Linked DNA regions of Homo sapiens: regions 1, 3, 4 and 5 are each linked to region 2. Evidence: promoter capture Hi-C in 16 types of primary human blood cells and fetal thymus (Javierre and others, 2016). All regions are on one chromosome and are shown on one strand. Each heading gives the region's core, a stretch centred on a gene start or on the middle of the fragment in contact. The rest is flanking DNA. Distances are from core to core; before and after follow the strand shown. Region 1 has its middle 5.0 kb from the start of BACH1. Region 2 holds the start of LTN1 (listerin E3 ubiquitin protein ligase 1). Region 3 overlaps LINC00189 (long intergenic non-protein coding RNA 189). Region 4 overlaps BACH1 (BTB domain and CNC homolog 1). Region 5 overlaps BACH1 (BTB domain and CNC homolog 1).

The links. The method cuts DNA at HindIII sites, captures the fragments that hold promoters and counts their contacts. A CHiCAGO score of 5 or more calls a contact.
Region 1: a contact is called between a fragment that was not itself captured here and the fragment with the promoter of LTN1 in region 2, in 8 of 17 cell types (naive CD4 T cells, naive CD8 T cells, neutrophils and 5 more). The highest score is 8.0, in naive CD4 T cells.
Region 3: a fragment that was not itself captured here is called in contact with the fragment with the promoter of LTN1 in region 2 in 1 of 17 cell types (neutrophils); the score reaches 5.0 in neutrophils.
Region 4: a contact is called between a fragment that was not itself captured here and the fragment with the promoter of LTN1 in region 2, in 6 of 17 cell types (neutrophils, naive B cells, activated CD4 T cells and 3 more). The highest score is 10.3, in neutrophils.
Region 5: a fragment that was not itself captured here is called in contact with the fragment with the promoter of LTN1 in region 2 in 5 of 17 cell types (neutrophils, naive CD4 T cells, total CD8 T cells and 2 more); the score reaches 8.0 in neutrophils.

Annotation. Positions count from the first base shown.
Region 1 is chr21:29,292,549-29,295,248 of GRCh38, forward strand. No RefSeq gene overlaps it. Among named protein-coding and RNA genes, the nearest start is that of BACH1, 5.0 kb to the right of the region's middle. The HindIII fragment of the contact is 2,232 bases long and covers 292-2,523 here.
Region 2 is chr21:28,991,611-28,994,310 of GRCh38, forward strand. LTN1 (listerin E3 ubiquitin protein ligase 1) reads right to left here and starts at 1,267. Exons shown (of 30, transcript NM_015565.3): 1 at 1,154-1,267. The coding sequence starts at 1,195. It overlaps LOC105372766 (a long non-coding RNA gene), which reads left to right and starts at 1,493. Exons shown (of 3, transcript XR_007067835.1): 1 at 1,493-1,521; 2 at 1,960-2,071; 3 at 2,172-2,571. RefSeq lists enhancers at 1,072-1,181, 1,492-1,551. The HindIII fragment of the contact is 7,723 bases long and covers 1-2,421 here.
Region 3 is chr21:29,272,759-29,275,458 of GRCh38, forward strand. The region is part of intron 1 of LINC00189 (long intergenic non-protein coding RNA 189); the gene reads left to right. Among named protein-coding and RNA genes, the nearest start is that of BACH1, 25 kb to the right of the region's middle. The HindIII fragment of the contact is 1,344 bases long and covers 763-2,106 here.
Region 4 is chr21:29,309,802-29,312,501 of GRCh38, forward strand. All of the region lies in intron 1 of BACH1 (BTB domain and CNC homolog 1), which reads left to right. Among named protein-coding and RNA genes, the nearest start is that of BACH1, 12 kb to the left of the region's middle. The HindIII fragment of the contact is 3,024 bases long and covers 1-2,700 here.
Region 5 is chr21:29,327,624-29,330,323 of GRCh38, forward strand. It overlaps BACH1 (BTB domain and CNC homolog 1), which reads left to right. Exons shown (of 5, transcript NM_001186.4): 4 at 1,864-2,070. Among named protein-coding and RNA genes, the nearest start is that of BACH1, 30 kb to the left of the region's middle. The HindIII fragment of the contact is 1,283 bases long and covers 657-1,939 here.

The DNA.
Region 1 (2,700 bases), core at 158-2,657, 300 kb after region 2:
GGAGAATACATTTATTAAAACAAGTATGTTATAGAGTAGCCTTTACTACTTCCAGAACGTTTCAGAATAAAAGATCAGGAGCTGCAGGCTACAATCCTTGGTGTAAACACGAACAAATACATAGAACAAAGCTATCAGACTGGATTTTTCTGTCTTTTGCAGACGTGTGACTATGGTTGAAGGTGCTGTCTCTGATTCAGTACCAAGCATAAGCATCACTGACTCTGCAGGAAGGCACTGGCACCAAACATTTAGTAACTTTTCCGCAGGCTTGAGGGATTGGTTACATGAAGCTTTGGGCAGTCTTCTGTCACCTTTCTGGCTGGAACTCTACTTTCTTCTCCCCTCACTCCTCCCCAGTTGGGTGCAGAGCAGTCAGGCTACATCCAAGATTCTGAGGGTCTCACTTTCTATCCCCAGACATTTATATGTATGTATATGTGTGTGTATACATATATTTGTGTGTGTGTATATATGGTGATAAATGTATAAATATTATTATAAAACACTTAAACATTTATTATAAACTGTTATGTTAATATAAAAAATATATGTATGTACATATACATATAATACATATAAAAACACCTTGCAGCATTAGCTTATGAGAGAAGAATTTCTCTACTTCATTAAATAAATATATGTAACAGAATGAGAGAAAATCTGTAGCACAATGAATTCTAATGGAGGACAATTTCAAGTGTCATTTTAGGTCTAGGAGCTTGACACAGGTTTAAAATGAAACAGCCTTTTTCAATATTTTCTGTTTTATTTACTGAACTTTCCTCTAAGTCATGATCATTGGGGTTGTGGTTCTTCTTACAAAGTTAACTCCATTTTCATGCTCCATTTTAATCATCTGATATTTTATTTAATCTTGATTTTGGTTATCTATTGCTATATTAAAAAAACTGCAAAATTTCATGACTTTAAACAATAATCATTTTACTATTTCATAATTCTATGTGTTGGCTGGGCTCAGCTGGTAAGTTCTTTTGTATAGACTTGACCAAAGAACATCCTAGATGGCTCATTCACATGACTGGCACTTGATGCTCAGTACTGGCTGGTTGCTCTGCTGGGGCTCCTGAGTGAAGAGGCCACACATGCCCCATGCATGGTGGTTTGGTTCTGAGAGAGGGTGTCCCAAGAGAGCTCATTTGAAGAAAGAGGAAGTAGAGGCTAACAGTCTTCTAAAAGACTAGAACCAGAACTGGCAGAGCATCACTTCTGCAGTGTCTTCTTGGTGATGCAGTCACAGGGCCAGATTCAAGATGATGAAAAATAAACTCCCATTCTTGACGGGGAAAACGATAAAAATTTTGTGGCCATCTTTAGTCCACTGCAACCTCCTACTGGTTTTCAGAAGCGCAATTTTTTTTGGATATTTGGGCCACTTTGGTTGTCATTAAATCTGGTATCTGAGCAGCACCTCTTTCACTGATTTGGCCCCTGTCCCACTGAGTTCTTCTGCTTCAAAACTGGCTATTTCCTTTTCATTTTTCTGCCTTTATCTTAATTTTACACTTTGTAACATTTCAAACCAGAGGCTACACCTCATCTTTGATTTCAGTTATCAGGTAAACATGAGGGTGTGTTTACTCATCTGCTCCAGGAAGTTCTCATTGTCTTCTAATAAAATATGTTCATTTTCCATAAAACTTTCCAACCTGGAGGCAGGGGTGCTATGACTTTAATCCATAGTCACATCTCAGGGTACAGGTGTCAAAGAGCAGTTGTTCAAGTGGGAGACTTGTGTTGATCTGGGTAATCCCCCACCTTTAAAGCCTAGTTGTTTTGCCCCACCCCCCCTCCAATATTTTCTTGACTTAGTGAGTGAATACTTAAAGACAAAAGGAGCTAAGGCAATGAAGATGGAGGGAATGAAGTTCTGGGAAGGCTGGAGGGGTATGCAGATTTGTAGGGGTTACAGATGTCATGCTGCATCTGTGGAAATGAGGATTCAAAACCAAAGGTGGGTAGGGAATAAATGTGGAAGTGTGGATCTTTCCTGAGGTTAGGGAGGAGGACAGGGGACAAGGGTTACACTGACTACACATCAAAGTTTTTTCAGGATATGTATTATGTCTTACTGTCCAAATATTATGCTATGGTGTTCCTTATAGCCATGAACATGTCACCTATCTGTATGATTTAGCTCCCTCATTTTTGAGAGTCAGGCAAGACAACCTGCTATTAGAGGAGAAAATGATGGTGTTTGTATCTAGGTTTTATTAAAAATCATTCCCTAACTATGGCTTATAGTTATTTAAATTGTTTTCAGAGTTAATGATAAGATTTTATTTTGGTAATAAAATCAGTATGATGGCCAGAAAGAAGATATGAATGTTTGGAAAAATTGGAAATATCATTTTTGAAAGAAATGTGACAATGCACATATATAACATCTTGCGAATGGTATTGTATATCACCAAACCTGCTCACAGCAGGAAAACTAGCCATCACTTCTCACAGTCAATGAGAAGTATAAATCAAGGACATAGCAGTAAGCTGTGATACCCAAGCTTCACGGATAAATTCTCCTAAAGAATAATGCACTAAAAACAAAACTACATGACAAAAAAAAGCACTAATTGCAAATCACTGTGAAACAGTAGCACAAAATCTTTATATTGTGCTACTAGTGACAGCAACAGAAGACAGTCAAACGCCTAGGCAGATAGAGGCAGGTCCCCGGTG
Region 2 (2,700 bases), core at 17-2,516:
ATTCTTGCAACTTTTCCTCATAAGAACTTTTCAAATATAAAACATTTGAGAAAATCTGTTAAATAAAAAACATTAAAAGATGCAAGTAAAGTGCTTAGCACAGTAACACAACAGGTTGCTATAATTGTTAATACTGTTATTATCTTCCAAAACAGATTAAGTGACAGATCTAAGAAAATGTGACATTGAAATCACTAGAATTAACTACATCAGAAACAGGAAAAAAAAGCATTCTCATAAAATTGGACTGTGCTATAATAAATCTAACACCATAAAAAAATACCATTACAAAACCCCTCATCGTGTAGTTTTACACGAATCCACTTTAAGGTCGTCCTTAAGCAAGTACTTAGTGAGCGTCTATTAGGTGCCAGTCTGTTCTAGGTTCCGAGGATAAAAACATTTGCTTTCAAAATACTTACGTCCTAGTGAACCAAGACAATAAATGTCATAAATACAATGGAGTAAAATAAAGTAGGAAGAACATGGGAGTGGGGAAGGGCTACCAAGAGGGTGATCATGGGAGACCTCACTGAGGTGTCGAGAGCAAAGTTTGGAGCCACCTAACTGAAGAGCGTTGGGAGCCGGCCAGGTAGTCAAGGCACAGTGAAGAGATCAGTGTGGCTGGATGAAGTAAGCCAAGAGGAGGGAGCTGAAGATGGGACTGCAGATGGAAAGGGGTAACAGGCAGTCCAGAAACCAAATATACCATCCTAAGAGCTTTAGCTTAGGAGAAGCCACTGTAGGTAGCAAAGGAGAGGCACAATCTGCGGTAACCTCCACAGTGGATTCACTTTAACATTCTCCCAACTCTCCTTCTTCCCAGCGCCGCCCTCCCCCAACCAACCCGCTACCTCGGCCAGATCACCTTCCAGTGAACCTGACACATTATCATTTCTTCATGAATATTATGGGTGTGTGCTCGGATGAGGACAGCTCTGGCATGGTACATCTTTTCTCTCACGATTCCCCAATCTGCTCAGAGATAACACAAACCGCTCTCAGGGACGCACACACAACAGAGAGGTCACACTCGACAGGGAAACACACGCCTCCCTACAGCCGCGCTCCACACACCCTCCAGCAACGCGCTGGGCGGAGCCAGCCGCCTCGAAGCGAGGCTCCCGGGTCGGCCGAGCCAGCCCCCGCTCACCCTCAGGTTCCCTTTAGTTCGCTGCTTGTTCTTCCCGCCCATGGTCGCGGTTGCAGCTGTACTCTGAGCACTCAGACCCCGGTTGACACGTCCGGGACACAACTTCCGGCTTCTGGCGGCGGAAGAGGACACCCTGTAATAACTTCCCCCGGGCCCTTTTCCGCCACCCACCCTGTCCATTTGCTGCCCCACTTCCGCTCCCGCCTCCCGCTGTGTCCCTGACCATCCGCCACCGGAGACGTCACAGCTAAAGCCACGCCTGTCTGAGTGATGTCATTCCTGGCCAATAGGAAGCCAAGCATTGGACCCGTGGCGCCAAATCCTGTCCTCCCCGCTTTCAGAAGCTAGGTTTGTTCCTTGCTTAGAGGGTAGGAAACTGGCGTGAATCATCAGAGGGGCAGTTTCACATAAGGGTAGCATTAGAATGTTATGGTAGAGGCTGTGGGAAGATGGGAGTGTTTTAGACTTCCAACATGATGCAATCATCAGTATCACCTGGGCGTTTTTTAGAAAAGGCCAACTCGGGCCCCTCAGAACTCCTGAATCAGATCCTGCATTTTGACAGTATTCCCAAGTCTTGTTAAAATTTGATTACTGCTGTAGGCACTATTCTCTCTAAATCTCCCCTCCCCGTCCCCTTTTATTCATATTGAAACTGTTAACGTGCAGTTTAGGAAAGAGGATAATGTGGGAGTCCCTATTAAAATTTGAAATGTACAAATCCTGTAACCCATTGATTGTGCGACTCAGAATCACACCAGAGAAACAAGTAAATGTGTGCTGGTTATTGTTTCTTGTCCACGCAGTCACCCTTTTATACTCAACTCCATGTTACTGGGGGGGCTTCTGCTAGATTCCACCAACAGGACGAACAAGAGGGAAACAAAGGCAAGAGGAAGAAGGGACTTGCTCCATTCTGTAAGCATCATGCCAGCAGCAGCTGCATTTTACCGTGGCAGGAGCAATTGCTTTAGCCAAAAGGTGGTTTTAATCTCTATCCTTTTTCCAACAATCACAGAATCAGCCTTATTGCACCCCTCAGAGATCACAGCAGCAGTCAGTGCTCTCCTCAGAGATCTGAATTCTACTTTCATGCGGCCCCTCCCCTGAGCTCCTGAGATAGCCAATGTTTGAGCCACCTCCTCAGAAGTTTGAGCCTCAACACCGTGGGATCCCTTCTTTGTGCTCCAGAGATCCAGTAACAGCCAGCCATCACCCTCTCTTCATTCTTCATAGGCCTGAACTAAGGTGTTCAGGGCCCTCCTTCAAGCTTTTAGGTTCTGATGACTCCAACCACTTCTTTTGTTCCATCCTTTCCTAGCTCTAGGAATGGTAGCTGCTACCTGCAGTGATTACCTGTTACCTTTTATAATTCCTTTTGACCAATTTCCCATATTAAAATATTTCTCAATAACTAATGTGATTTCTGTTTTCCTGACTGGACCCTGATTTTAAAATGCACACAAAAGCCAGGTGCAGTGGCTTATGCCTGTAATCCCACCACTGTGGGAGGCCGAGGCAGGTGGATCACCTGAAGTCAGGAGTTC
Region 3 (2,700 bases), core at 185-2,684, 280 kb after region 2:
AGGATAGCTTGATCCCAGGAGTCTGAGGCTGCAGTGAGGCATGATTGAGCCACTGTACTCCAGCCTGGGCAACAAAGTGAGACCCTGTCTCTAGAATCTTTTTTTTTAAAAAAGGATATTGGATTATGCAAGAAAATCCAAGACATTCCCACCACTTATAGTTGTACTTTTTAAATGGATGTATTTTTTTTTTTTTTTTGAGACAGAGCTTCGCTCTGTTGCCCAGGCTGCAGTGCAGTGGCACAATCTCAGCTCACTGCAACTTCCACCTACTGAATTCAAGCGATTGTTGTGCCTCAGCCTCCTGAGTAACTGGGACTACATGCATGTGCCACCACACCCAACTAATTTTTGTACTTCTTAGTAGAGATGGGGTTTTGCCATGTTGGCCAGGCTGGTCTCTAACTCTTGGCCTCAAGTGATCTGCCCACCTTGGCCTCTCAAAGTGCTGGGATTATAGGCATGAGCCACAGTGCCTGGCCAAGGAACAGTAGATTAACATGAGATTAAACATGCCACATATTTTTAGGTTATCAATTATACTCAAAGATTCATAATAAAATATATTGACACAAAATAGTTATATATTGGAGTAACAGGCAAAAATAAAAAAGCAACATTTACAATGAAACATGAAACTTCAAATGAATTCTGAAGTTTTTGCCATATCTTCAGACTTGGTGAGGAGATGTGGGAATAGGTATAAGGTGAGACAAACTGCATTTTTATGTTTCTCTATCACTAGGGGTTCCTTCCCAGAAAAGCTTGTTTGAGATGTACTATCACCCTATAGGGAACTATCCTTACATATGTAATATCTTGGAATTGTCTGTTTGCCTATATGTTTTAGATACAATTTTTCTTTTAGTTTAGATTATGTTCTCCAGGACAGGGTTATATTTCTTAATTACTTTTTAGGATAATATAAGGTCATTATAGTTTTTAATTAATAAAAATTAAAAGTCTTGAAAATCTTTTGAAGTTTTAGTGGGGAGGTAAACAGGTGCAGTAACTTTGGAAAACAGATGGATATTCATATACCAGGTGAGTTAGCAGTTTTATTCTTAGGAATATATGAGAAGCTCTTGCACATGTTTAAGACTGGTCACAGCAACACTGTTCCTAAAAGCAAAAACCTGGAAAGAACTCAAATGCACATCAACAGGAGTGTGGATTCAAGAATTGTTGTGTAATCACACAATGAAATATTACATAGCATTCTTACCTAATAAGACACTACAATACCCACAATTGGATAAATCTTACAAATATTAGGTTGGAGCAAAAGTAACTGTGTTGTTTTCTATTAAAAGCAATGACGAAAACCGTAATTACTTTTGCATCAACTTAATATACTATCCAATGGAAAAAAGTTATCAGGACACTATCTATAGCATACTACCTTTACATAATATAAATGCTGGTCCCTGTATATCAATGTGTCACTGAGTTTTGCAGTTTTGGTAGGTCACACAATAGAAATGAAAGGGTTAGTTTAAATATCTAACTTGTAACACAAATAGCTTTTTTTAGGCATATTAAAACTTTTACTAAAAAGAAAAAAGATTTAAACGTGTTAGAATGGATATAGCAAATTATGGATTTTATGTTTTTAGTGAATTTAATAATAAATAAATACAAGTATATAGATTTATGTTTATATATAGGTAAAAATTAAAAGAGCAAAACAATATTTTTGTTGAATTGAACGTAATATAATTTTAAAAACTGATACTCTCCTGATGTAGTACTTAAGCATTAGATTCCAATTAAGGTTCATGGTAGCCAGCCTCCAAGATGGCCCTGAGTGATCCTGAACTCCTCATGTTCATGCCCTTTTGCAGTACCCTCCTACTTGGATTAGGATGGAGTTTTGTAGCTATAGGATATTGTGGAAATAACCATGTGTGACTTCTGAAGCTAGACTGTGAAAAGACAATGCAGCTTCTGTCTTGCTCTGTCTTGGGTCTCTCACTTTTATGGGGAGCCAGTCACTATATCATGAGGATTCTCAAGCAGCCCATGGGGAAGCCCAGAAGAGGAGGATCTGAAGCCTCCTGCTGGGAAACAGCAGCAGGTGAGTGAGCTTTCTTGGGAACAATCCTAAGCTTCGTCCAACCCTTCAGGTGACTGTGGTCCTGGACAGCATCTTGACTACAACCTCATGAGAGACTCTGAGCCAGAACCACTCAGCTAACTGTTCCCAAATTCCTGACCTGCAGAAACTGGGAGTTAATACATATTTATTGCTATTTTGAGCTGTTATGATTTACAGTAATTTATTACACAGCCATAGACTAATACAAAATTAGCTAGTTATGGTTCTTTTATACTTAATGCTTCCAGTGGCTATTTTTTTCATACCAAGCGCCTTAACATTCAACATATTAACAATAAATTATTTCAAAATAACTCGTGCTCTGTTATGTGTCACTTCACATAATATAAATGCTGGTCATAATATATATACATAATATAAATGCTGGACACATCTCAATGTGTCACTGAGTTTTGCAGTTTTAGTAGGTCACACAATAGAAATGAAAGGGTTAGTTTAAATATCTAACCTGTAACACAAATAGCTTTTTTTAGGCATTTTAAAACTTACTAAAAAGAAAAAAGATTTAAACATTGTGTTAGGATGGATATAGCAAATTATGGATTTTATGTTTTTAGTGAATTTTCCTATGGATTTTTCTA
Region 4 (2,700 bases), core at 147-2,646, 320 kb after region 2:
AAATAACCTAAAACTTGATTTCCTGTTGTCCCTAATAATTCTGTGTGTTTAACACTTCATATTTTTCAGAGGGCTTCGTGAGACAGATAGGGTGGGAGCTACCTACTTAGGCTATCTATTCAGTTTCACACATGCACATTTGCCCTTGTTCACATGGCTAGACTTGACTTGATGGGTCTTTCCTCCTCATTTTCCTATAGCAGGGTTCTCTCATTTTTTTTAAACACCAAGTCTTCTTTTTATTTTAGATTTCTATAAAATTTAATTTATTCTTTAGTAATTTATTGTGAAGAATCTGCTAAGTTTTAGAGCCCATCAACTTATCATGTAGTGACAAACCAATTATCTGCTGATGACTGTAGGAAATATCTACTCTAAAGGGGGAAAATGTAATTGGCAATCTTTGGGAGATTTCACGACAATCAAAATAATTGTGAACTATCTTTTTAACCAAGGCACATTTTTTGTTTGTTTATAGTTATTTATTCCAACATTTTTCTGATTATAAAGTAGTATGTATTTATGGTTAAGAATTTGAATGCAGAAACAAAAATTACCTAGATCTTACCATGCTAATATTTTAATTATATATCCTAACAAGGCATGGTGATGGTGATGAGGGTGGCAACCAAGATTTCTGGACATACTGAATTGGTGATGCCTATTAGACATACAGGTAGTAATTTGAGTATGCAGTTGGCTATATGAGTATGAAATTCAAGAGAGAAGTCAAGATTGGACCAAATACGAATATGAGAGTGTTCAGCAAGTCAGTGAAGTGATCGTGTCTCCATTGTGGGTCCAGATGTGTTCACCTAGGGAGTGTGTGCAAAGAAGAAACCAGAGGATTGTGGTATCCTGGAAGCCAAGTGAAGACAAGGTTTCAGGAAAGGAATGATCAACTTGTTAACTATTGCTGAGATGCTGTGTAAGAAGACTGAACATTTGCCATTTGGTGATGTGGAAGCTGTTGAGCTTCACTAAATGGTTTCCACGGAGTGGAGGGGAAAAGGCTTGTTTGAGTGGCCTCAAATGAAATTGGGAAGAGAGGGAAGAGACAGTGTGAGTATAAATGGTTCCTTTTGGAAATTCAGTACAGGAGAGCAAAGAATTATAGATCGAGGGGTATAAGGAGGGTCAATAAATTTTAAGAGAGGATCCATTATTCATCAGTTCCATTAAAGGCAAATGCAAAATTTTATTATGTGCGTGGTTTTCTGGTGGAAGTTCAATAGATTTCATCAGATTCTGTAAGGCAGAGAACCAGTGCTCTAGTGATTTGGCAGTTCAACAGCTCATTTTTCTGGAGGATACCCTTAAAATTTTAACTGATTTAAATTAATATTCACCAGTATTAAATAGTATGTGTAACATCGTACCCAAACAAGATGTCTTTCTGTATTTTTTTCTTTCCTTCTCTTAGTTTTGTTAAAATCTTTTTAGTTCAGAATATTCTCTATCAAATGCCTTTTCTATTTGAAGACTCTCCTAAAAAGTTATATTAATACTTGCAACCAAGTGATCAACCATTTACATTTAACTAAATTTTGCTACTTTTGTTTACTATCTATTTAAACATTTTAAGTTTGTGTTTTTAGTCAAAGTAATACTTGTTGGTTTTTGTTTGTTTGTTTTTTTAAGTACAGAGAACAACCTTATCTGCTGCACCTCACCCCCTAATTCTGCTTCAGAGTTATGTGCAATGTTTACTGGTTTCTGCTATTTAATTTTTTTGGTGGATACCTCTGTCTAAAATGTTTACACCTCAGTTTATTTATCAACCTAAGATATTATCTGTTGACTTGGTATTACTGTGGGTGATGATTTCGTTTACTCTACTATCCCCCCACATGTATTTGTAATCTTATTATTCCACTTCTACTGTTGATCACCTCTGCAACTCCAGCTCTAAACACTTTTTTTCTATTTCTTTTTCTTGTCTCATTAATCTGAGGCAGTGCCTTTTGACTCTGCACATTGTAAGTTGTATGGAAATACCATTCCCATTCTTCCTGATTCTGTCTCCCAGCCTGCTTTATTTTGTCAAGGTTAATAATATTTACATTCTATGCTATAGTTATAATTAAGTCTCTCATTATTTGTCTATTCTAAAAGTTGAAAAAAGTCACAGAGATGTAAAGTGACATGCTTAACTGACAGTGGAGTCCTCAAGTTATAAAGTGCTATTAATCTTTTGTGCTGTCCACCCATAGGTATCCCTAGAGCAGCGCTAGCTGCTGTTTGGCAGTTTCTGGAGAAGTCTTTATGTCCTTACTTGTGCTCCCTGATAACAACTCTGTCCTCATCTTCAGCCCCTGATTGTGGGATTTTAGGGGTATCTGAGATGTAAGCATTTAGAAAGTGGTGTAGACAAACCGTGGAAGAGGCTGAGTTGGGAAATTTTACGTGTTGGGGGAATTTTCATTCTTTGCTTTTTTCCCCTCCCCTCTTTCTTGTGGGAGCCTTAACTGGGATAGTAACAATTGCACCCGCCTCTCTGCCCATTAGTTGCTCATCTTAGAAAATCTACAGTTAACATATTTAGTGGCGAAATACTTAACACTTTCCTTATATGGGAATGAGATGAGGATACCCACTGTCACCACTCTCACTATTCGGTCATTGCAATAAGGGAAGAAAAAGAAATAAGCATAAAGACGGGAAAGAAGTAAAATGGTCTCTGTTTGCAGATGACATGAT
Region 5 (2,700 bases), core at 48-2,547, 340 kb after region 2:
GTTTGAGATCAGCCTGGCCAACATGGCGAATCTCCGTCTCTACAAAAATTAGCTGGGTGTGGTGGTGGGTGCCTGTAATCCCAGCTACTCGAGAGGCTGAGGCAGGAGAAGCGCTTGAATGTGGGAGGCGGAGGTTGCAGTGAGCCAGGTTTGCACCACTGCACTCCAGCCTAGGAGACAGAGCAAGACTGTCTCAAAAAATTTTTTAAAAACACTGTGTGATAAATACCAAAAGAGAGAGATGAAGTTTGAAGGACTTCTGTTCATTCGTTTCCAGTAGATATATTAACCATAAAGTAGGTTCACACATTGGCTGTGTTCACACATCGGCCATTTAATTGTTTAAATCAAATGCCATGCTGCAAGACAAAAAAGAATAATGATTCTATGCTCATTATTTGATAACTCCTGGAAAAATGCAGCATATATTCAGTCTTGCTCATTGCCAACAAGAACCTCTAGACCTGGGACATGTCCCTGAGCAGTGGTTTAACAGTGATTAGTTGTAGGAATGTGACTTCTAGTGGAGTAAAGTTTATTGGATCTAGTTTTTCATGGCCATTGATTTTTAAATTTTCCTTTGGCCATTTCAACTATTGATGAATGTCTTAATTTAGCATGAGTTACATGTAGCTGGTATGATATTAATCAAAGCAAGCTTGATTTGTATATTCTGTTTGTATTTGATAGATCCTTTCTGTAAAATATTACTTATAAGTCCAATAATGACAAGGGCCTGTTAGTTCCTTCCAAAAATATATTAATTAAAATATTTTTTCTTTTTTTTGTTTTTATATTTTATGATTTTTTTTGCCTTTCAATAGTTGGCTTTTCTCTTTATAATCACAATTTACATTCTTTTTAAAAATTATTTTTCTATTTTATCCATTGCATTTTTTCCCCTTTCTTGGGCTTTATTTGTTTTTTGTAAGAATACTTAACATGGGATCTACCCTTATAACAAAATTTTAAGTGTACGATACAGTATTGTTAAGTATAAGCACAATATTGTACAGCAGATCTCTATAACTTATTCTTTTATGACTGAAACTTAACCCATCCAATTGCAATTCCCCATTTTTTCCCTCTCCCTAGCCCCTGGCAACCACCATTCTACTCTCTGTTTCTGTGAGTTTGACTGTTCTGTCTACTTCGTATAAGTGAAATCATGTTGGATTTACTCTCCTCTGTGTCTGGCTTATTTCACTTAGCATGATGCCTCCCAAGTTCTCCATATTGTAGGCAAATGGCAGGATTTCCTTCTTTTTATCAGGCTGAATGGTATTCCTTTGTGTATATACACCACGTTTTCTTTATCCGTTCATCCATCCATGGACATTTAGGTTGTTTCCATATCATGGCTATTGTGAATAATGCGGTAACGAATATGGCGGGGAGTACAGACTGGGCACAGTGGCTCATGCCTGTAATCCCAACACCTTGGGAGGCTGAGGTGGGTAGATTGCCTGAGCCCAGGAGTTTGAGATCAGCTTGGGCAACATGGTAAAACCCCATCTCTACAAAAAATACAAAAATTAGCCAGGCATGGTGGCATGTGCCAGTAGTCCCAGCTACTTAGGAAGCTGAGGTGAGAGGATCGCTTGAGCCTAGGAGGTTGAGGCTGCAGTAAGCCATGATTGTGCCACCGTACTCCTGCATGACAGAGACCCTGTCTCCAAAAAAATATGTGTAGATCAGTGCAGATATCCTTTTGAGATTGTATAGAAATTGGGATAGAGGCCTATGTTTTCTTTAATGTAAAATAAGTTCTCTGAAAAACTTAGATGTATACCTTCATCTTCCTAGGTTTGACTATAATTATAAAATACAGCAATAATTAGTAATATTTATTTCATATTCTAGGTAAAACTGCCATTCAATGCACAACGGATAATTTCACTGTCTCGAAATGATTTTCAGTCCTTGTTGAAAATGCACAAGCTTACTCCAGAACAGCTGGATTGTATCCATGATATTCGAAGAAGAAGTAAAAACAGAATTGCTGCACAGCGCTGTCGCAAGAGAAAACTTGACTGTATACAGAATCTTGAATCAGAAATTGAGAAGCTGGTAAGTGTAAAAGTTTCTTGTTACTATTTAAATTCCACCACTTTCTTTTTTGTCAAGGAAATAGTTTTTAAATTTCTAGGTCAGATATAATGCTCAATTACTTATTTTAATATGTATCAATTACCATTTTATCATTTTTACCATGATATGCTGTGATATGTAAGTGCTTTTTAAAAAGAAGGTTTTCAAATTAAGAATGACTTTACTGTCTACCTAATCATTAGTGGTTGTGAATAGATTCAAGAAATTATAAAGCACTTTAGGTTCTCTGTTTTGTGTCTATAGAAGTTAATATTCCAGGTGTTCATTTAAATGAACTGTGGACCTGAATAACTTGTTTTGGTTGATACCAAAACCAGACCAACCAGGATCTTTCATCTAAGGAAAAAAATTCTGATAGATATGGTGATATGAATTGAAAATATTAATATCTAATGGGATCCTAAGTGAGAACAATGCTTGCTTTTGAATCTTTTCTTTTTCTTTTTTGAGATGGAGTCTTGCTTTGTCGCCCAGGCTGGAGTGCAGTGGTGCGATCTCGGCTCACTGCAAGCTCTGCCTGCTGGGTTCATGCCATTCTCCTGCCTCAGCCTCCGGAGTAGCTGGGACTACAGGCGCCTGCCACTGCGC